Linked DNA regions of Homo sapiens: region 1 is linked to region 2. The links are contacts of gene promoters, found by promoter capture Hi-C in blood cells and fetal thymus (Javierre and others, 2016). All regions are on one chromosome and are shown on one strand. The core of a region is centred on a gene start or on the middle of the fragment in contact, and the rest is flanking DNA. Distances in the headings are between cores, read along the strand shown. Region 1 has its middle 3.3 kb from the start of EXOC4. Region 2 holds the start of LRGUK (leucine rich repeats and guanylate kinase domain containing).

Region 1 (5,095 bases), core at 2,092-4,591, 880 kb after region 2:
AGTATTTCCTGCATTTGGTTCCGTTGGCTTAGTCATTAATTCATAAGACCAAATGAACAAAACAAAACAAAAAAGACCAGAATGTGCGTGGAAAGTGGTTAGACTGAGGAACAAGAATAATAATAATTTAAAAGTAAGGAAGGAGGTGGCCTGCTCAGTAGCAATAAAGATTGAAGAACTTAAAGGAATAGAAAGCAAACTAACTCAGAGGTCATGGAGTTGTGAGCAGCAAGCTCAGAACACATCAATTACTTTTATTAAATAGACATCGAGCTGGTAGAAGTTCACATTTTTAAAAATTAGTTGAAGATAACACACACACACACACACACACGATAACTTAAAAGTATTCATAACCTTTGGCCCAATAATTCCAGTTCTAGGGACTTTGTTCCTAAAGAAATATAGAGTATTGACATTTTTTAAATAACACAGAAGAATTAAATAAATTATGTAACATTCAAATGAGGAAATAACATATAGCTTCTGGAAATCATAATTTTAATGGCTTTTAAAGAAAATAAGATTTTTGGGCCAAGTGTGATGGCTCACACCTGTAATCCCAACACTTTTTGAGAGGCAGAGCCGAGCAGACCACTTGAGGCCAGGAGTTTAAGACAAGCCTGGCCAACATGGTGAAACTCCGTCTCTACTAAAAATGCAAAAGTTAGCCGGACCGTGGTGGTGTGTGCCTGTAATCCCAGCTGCTTGGGAGGCTGAGGCATGAGAATTGCTTGAACCTAGAAGGCGGAGGCTGCAGTGAGCCAAGATCGTTCCACTGCACACTGCACGCCAGCCTGGGCAACAGAGGGAAACTCTGTCTCAAAAAAAAAAAAAAAAAAAAGATTTTTATGGTATAAGTACAAAAACTGGGCTATAAAATTAAATAATTCATAGAGAAAGGGAGAGGCAGTTGGGCCTAGTGGTTAAGAATGCAGGACAGGCCGGGCGCCGGGTGGCTCATGCCTGTAATCCCAGCACTTTGGGAGGCCGAGGCGGGCGGATCACGAGGTCAGGAGATCAAGACCATCCTGGCTAACACGGTGAAACCCTGTATCTACTAAAAAAAAATACAAAAAATTAGCCGGGCGTGTTGGCGGGCGCCTGTAGTCCCAGCTACTCGGGAGCCTGAGTCAGGAGAATGGCGTGAACCCGGGAGGTGGAGCTTGCAGTGAGTCGAGATCGCGCCACTGCACTCCAGCCTGGGCGACAGAGCAAGACTCTGTCTCAAAAAAAAAAAAAAAAAAAAAAAAGAATGTAGGACATAGGATAAAAAGTGTGTGATCATCTCAACTGTTGCAGAAAAAAGCTTTGTCAAAATCCAAAACACTCTTACAATAAAAACACTCAGAAAACTAGGGATAAAAGGGAACTTCTTATAGGCTATAAAGGGTACTTATGAACAACCCACAGCAATCATCATAGTCGATGAAAAACTGAAAGCCTTCCCACTAATATTAGACACAAAAAAAGGATAACCATTTTTTTGCCACTTCTATTCAACAAAGTACTGCAAGTTATAGCCAGAGCAATGAGGCAAGAACATGAATAAGTCATCCAGATTGGAAAGGAAGAAATAAAACAATATCTATTTTTGGATGATATGATCTTATATATAGAATATCCTAGAGAATACACACAAAAAACTATTAGAGCTAATAAAATATTCAGCAAAGTTGCAGAATACAAAATCAATAGCAACAGAAAATCAGTGGTATTTCTGTAAACTGGCAATAAACTATCCAAAAAGGAAATTTACACAACAATTCCATTTCCAATAGCAGCAAAAAGAATAAAATGCCTACGAATAAACTTAGCCATGAAAGTGAAAGACTGCTACACTGAAAGCTACAAAACATTGCTGCAAGAAATACAAGAAGACTCAAATAAATGGAAAGACATCCATGTTCATGGGTTGGAAAACTCAATATTGTTAAGATGGCCAAACTCCCAAAGCTATCTACAAATTCAATGTAATTCCGATAAAAATTCACTAGGCTTTTTGTGCAGAAACAGAAAAACTGATCCTGAAATTCATACGGAAATTAAAAGAGCCCCAAATAGCCAAAGCAATCTTGGAAAAAAAAAAAAATCAATGTGGAGGTCTCACACTTCCTGATTTCAAAACTTACTAAAAATCCGCAGTAATCAAAATAGCATGGTACTTGCATAAAAATAAACACATAGATAAATATAGTAGAATAAGCCATACAGAAATAAGCCTATTCATCTATGATCAATTGATTTTCTTTTTTTTTTTTTTTAGACGAAGTCTCTTTCTGTCACCCAGGCTGGAGTGCAGTGGCTCAATCTCAGCTCACTGTAACCTCTGACTCCCAGGTTCAAGCAATTCTTGTGCCTCAGCCTTCCAAGTAGTAGACACGGGGTTTTGCCATGTTGGCCAGGCTGTTCTTGAACTCCTGACCTCAGGTGATCTGCCCACCTCAGCCTCCCAAAGTGCTGGGATTACAGGCATGACCCACCGCACCCAAACAGTCAATTGATTTTCAACAAAGCTGACAGTACCATTCAATAAGGAAAGAATAGTCTCCTCAATAGATGGTGTTGAAAACTGGATAAGCATAAGCAAAAAAGTGAAGATGGACCCTACCTCATACAATATGCAAAAATTAACTAAAAGTGGATCAAAGACCTAAATATGAGATAAAACTCTTAGAACAAAATACAAGGGTAAATTTTCATGATTCTTAGCTATGACATCAAAAGCATAAGCAACAAAAGAAAAAATAGGTATATTGGGCTTTATTAAAATTAAAAACCCTCATACATCAAAGTACACTTTTCAAGAAAGTGAAAAGACAGGCACAGGATGGGAGAGAATAAAAGCAAATCACATACAGTATCTGGTAAGAGTTCTGTATCTAGACTATGTGAAGAACTCTTACAACTCAACACAAAAGGAAATAAAAATTAAAACCTAGGCAATGGATGTGAATAGACATTTCTCCAAAGAAGATACACAAATGGCCAAAAAGCACATAAAAAGATGCTCGACATCATTAATCATTATAGGAAAATGCAAAACCATAATGAGATACCACTTCACACCCACTAGGTTGGTTACAATTTTTTTAATGGAAAATAAATGTTGGCAAGTATGTGGAGAAACTGGAACCCTTGTACATTTATTTTGGGAATGTGAAATGGTTCAGCCATTGCAGAAAACAATTTGGTGGTTCCTTAAAAAACTAAACATAAAGTTACCATATGACCCAGCAATTCCGCTCATAGGTATATGCACAAGAGAATTGAAAACAAGTGTTCGGAAAATAACTTGTATACAAACATTCATAAAAGCACCATTCAAAATAGCCTAAAGGTGGAAGCAGTCCAAATGTTTAACAATGAATGAACTGCAACAATATGACTGTATCAGTGTGGTATAAACAAAATGTGCTATATCCATACAATGTAATATTATTCACACATAAAAATGAAAAAAGTACTGATATATGCTACAATATTGATAAATCTTGAAATCATGCTAACAGAAAAAAGCCAGACACAAAAGGCCATATTGTGTATAACCCCATTTATCTGAAATATCCAGAACAGACAAATTCATAGAGACAGAAAGCAGATCAGTGGTTGCCAAGGGCTGCAGGGCAGGAAGAAATGAGGAATGACTGCTCAATGGATACAGAGTTTCATTTTGGAGTGATGAAATGTTCTGGAACTACAGTCAATGGTTGCATAGCTTGTGAATGTATTAAAGGTCAGTAAATTATAAACTTTAAAGTAGTCAAAAGTCATAAATTTTATGTTATGTGTTTTTCACCACACCTTAAAAAAAAATGCAGTTTGTGTAGCAGGATGGCCTAGATTCAATCCCAGCTTTCCACTTCCTGGCTAGATTACCTAGGACAAGTTACTTAACTTTACTCTGCCTCAGTTTCTTTATCTGTAAAGCAGGTGGTCATTGTACTTCACATAGAGAGTTATTGTAAGAATATGTGAGATATACATTATCAGCACTTGGTAAATATCAGCTATTATTACTAAAGTATGGTACTAATTTTGTTGAAAATACATCTCTGGGGTTATTGCAAAGTTGTTTTGAGCGTCAATAACATGGGTAATTTTTTTTTTTTTTTTTACACTTTTCTGTGTTTTACAAAGTTTCCGGGATGGGCACAGTGGCTCATGCCTGTAATCCCAGCACTTTGGGAGGCCGAGGCAGGTGGATCACCTGAGGTTAGGAGTTCGAGACCAGCCTGGCCAACATGGCAAAACCCCGTCTCTACTAAAAACATAAAAACTAGTGGGGCGTGTTGGCAAGCTCCTGTAATCCCAGCTGCTCTGGGGGCTGAGGCAGGAGAATTGCTTGAACCAGGGAGGCGGATGTTGCAGTCAGCCAAGATTGTGCCACTGCACTCCAGCCTGGGTGACAGAAGGAGACTCCATCTAAAAAAAAAAAAAAAAAAAAAAAAAATTTCCAGGTGTTGCTTTTTATAAGCAGAAATACACAAAAGTACTTCCTTTAAAGGAGAATTGGATAAGTGTCAGAAACAATGGCCTACTTTCATCACAAAATGGAAATACAATTAAGTGATAAATAAATTAGCACACCCAAATTAATTAATTTATTTTATTTTATTTTTTTCAGACGGAGTTCTGCTCTTGTTGCCCAGGCTGGAGTGACGCGATCTCGACTCACTGCAACCTTCACCTCCCAAGTTCAAGTGATTCTCCTGCCTCAGCCTCCTGAGTAGCTGCGATTACAGGCACATGCCACCATGCCTGGCTAAAACCAGTATATATGCAGGTCTTGTTTTATGTTTTCTAAACCAGGGCAGACCGTTTCCTAATATTACATTTGTAAATATACCTAGGGGCTCTTAAAGCCATGGGAACATCCAATTAAATTAAAATGCTTTGACCTCTTTGGATGAATGGCTCTATATAAATCCAAGGTATTGATATTCTTATTATTGTGGATAAATGAAATGTGTGAATGAGGCTAGCTCAGCAGCAGAGTGGCTCCCTGAGATTCATAAAAACTGCCCAGGTTTGGGTGTCTATAGAACACCCAACACAGACATAGGAGATTTGAAAACAAACAAACAAAAAATAT
Region 2 (2,569 bases), core at 1-2,500:
GACAAAGCCAGACTCCATCTCAAAAACATAAACAAAATAGAAAGGAAGCAAATTAAATTACGCTTTTGAAAGAAAGCAATTTATTAGAAGCCAAGAGAAAAGAAGTGATGTGATGAGAAGTGGAAAAGGACAAGAAGACAACAATGGACTAAGAAAGGAAAAGGACCATAATAAGCATAAGAAAGAAGAGGAATTGTGTGGTGGTCAGAAGAGATATTGTAGAAAGGAGGGAATGGCAGTCATGTGAAACGCGAAGCCGCCATCCCAGTCAATATGGGTGGGATGATGGGAACATTCCCCACATCCTAAAATATTCCCACAATGAGCTGGCTGTTCGAACATTATAAGGCTCTTTTCTGGTGTGTGTGCATGTTGCTTGTATAAGGCATATGCCCCCGACAGAAGTAATGTATTCAACTTTTAAGTCACTTAGTCTTTGAAGAAGCACTTTCAAAAGCGGATTTTTTTTTTTTTTTTTTTCCTGGAGGGAGGCTGACGGGACTAGAACTGAGGAAGAGTGTGGAAGTATGTCATAGCCATGGGCAACAGGTGCTGGCAATGTCAGAGATGAACTCTGCCTATTCACAATACTGTCAAAGTATAATTTTGAAAAAGCTAAAGCCATAATTCCCAGACAATTATCTAGACACTCTTACAAAGTGACGCTGTGTTAACTCGACTCATAAGAAATCAAATGTGTTAATGAAAAAAGAAAGGAACTATTTAGAGCTATTTCAGGCAGGGGGTGAGAAAACGGGGTAAAAGACAGGGGAAGAAAAGAGGGGGAAGAGGCGTTCCTGGAGGCGAGAGAGCCTGAGAAGGTGTGGGAAGCTTCGGGCTGGTGGGGGTGCATCGGGGAGCTGCCGCTGAAGTAACAGGGCTGGACGAGGGAGCCAGGGAGTACGGGGTGGGGGGGAAGACACACCTCCAAATTCAGCATTTCGGACTCTGAGGACTCCTCGGATCCCGCCTCGCCCTCGCCCTGGTCCTCATCTCCGTCCGAGTCCAGCTCCTGATAGCGGTGCATGAGCTGCTGGAGCAGGTAGGAGGAGGCTATGTTAGAGCTGCCTTTCGTCTTCTGCCCCATGGGAAAAGACCAGCAAGGCTGACGCTCTTTTTCTGCGCGAAACTGTAACGATCGGGCTCCAGTTCGGGATCTGCCCAAGCCTCTCAGGAGAGAGGCAGCTCTGGTCCTCAGGAGAGCCCTCTCGGAGGTCGCCATCTTGTTTAGCGGGGTTGCCTAGGAGACTGACCCCAGGCAAGGGGAACCGCGGAGGATTCTGGGGCCTGTAGTCTCCTCCGCGCGTACTCGCCTTCTGCAGGCGGGGCAGTGGGCGCTCCACTTGACTTTTCTTTTTCTCAGTCTCTTCTGTTATTTTTCTCTCTTTGGTCTGTTCTGTTCGCTTATCTTTCCTGTTTTCACCTCTTTTCGCTACACCCCCTTTCTTTGTCTCCAGCTGTTTCCTCCCTACCCTGAGACCCCTCTTAGAGCTTTGTCATCCCACGATAGGATCGCAGGTGCGCCACCGTTGCCGCTTCATTCCCAAAGGGCTCTTTCCGCAGAGTCGTACTTTAGAAGTGTCTAATGTCTCTAAAGCAGTCTGTAGGAAAGCTAGTACCACTGAAATTTATGCAAAGCGCGACGCTAGGAGATGAGGGTGCATATAAGTGAAATAGAAGGCATGGTTCCTGTCCTTATGATTTAATTGCAGATAATAAAGAGAAACTACCAGACGACGCCTGAGAGCTGATTTCCAATTAATTTACATTCCCCACCCCCACCCCCCAATGATAAGCCTTGTCCTTGGGGAGAAAAACTGGCAGTGGTCTTACAATCCAAACAGAGAGAGAAAAAACTGCTGTCAAATTGACACTGTATCTGAAAGCGTCTGAAAAGCTATTAGCATCCCATAAATAATTATATTAGTCAAGTGACCTGCATTGGCAATTATTTTAATCTTGTTGCACAGGCTCTCTTTGCAGTTAAAAAAAATACTCTTTCAAGATAACAAAGCACGATTTTATGCTAGTGTGATTTTATGTGACCCAAATCCCATAGCCTTAAGCTCCACAACGTCGACACTCTATAGAAAAGCAGAATGAAAATTATAGTAACTATTATTGCCATAGTGATGACAATAGAGATCCTTGCAGGGAAGTAGCCCTCATCCTTCTGGCCTTACAGGGCCTTTTCTGCACGCTTCAATGACAGCAGTTGCAAATACAAAATGATCCTGTCAATGGCTGTCAGGGGAGAAGGAGAAAAAATCCTTATGGACACCATCCATTGACGATTATCTTTCTCAGTGCTTGAGGGACCGTTAAAACTGACATAAAGCTTTCAGAATTACCTTCCTTCATTATCTTGCTAGTCATAAATGTAAAGGCCACAAGCAAAATATCTCTTTCTGCCAGGCTCATCTTGCTTTTTGCTTATTTCTTTTTCCAATAAGTAGAGATTCCTCCAAGGGAATTTTCCCCACCCTTACCCTCGTAGGGCCTGGCTTCGGCTAAGTGACATAGGGAAGAATCAGGCAGAAAGTGTAAAAATGCAAATCTCGATCGTTTT

Evidence for each region. The method cuts DNA at HindIII sites, captures the fragments that hold promoters and counts their contacts. A CHiCAGO score of 5 or more calls a contact.
Region 1: a contact is called between a fragment that was not itself captured here and the fragment with the promoter of LRGUK in region 2, in 8 of 17 cell types (fetal thymus, total B cells, monocytes and 5 more). The highest score is 11.7, in fetal thymus.

The regions. Positions count from the first base shown.
Region 1 is chr7:133,247,241-133,252,335 of GRCh38, reverse strand. No RefSeq gene overlaps it. Among named protein-coding and RNA genes, the nearest start is that of EXOC4, 3.3 kb to the left of the region's middle. The HindIII fragment of the contact is 4,060 bases long and covers 1,312-5,095 here.
Region 2 is chr7:134,126,021-134,128,589 of GRCh38, reverse strand. It overlaps LRGUK (leucine rich repeats and guanylate kinase domain containing), which reads right to left and starts at 1,250. Exons shown (of 20, transcript NM_144648.3): 1 at 926-1,250. The coding sequence starts at 1,222. RefSeq lists enhancers at 968-1,237, 1,348-1,397. The HindIII fragment of the contact is 1,507 bases long and covers 834-2,340 here.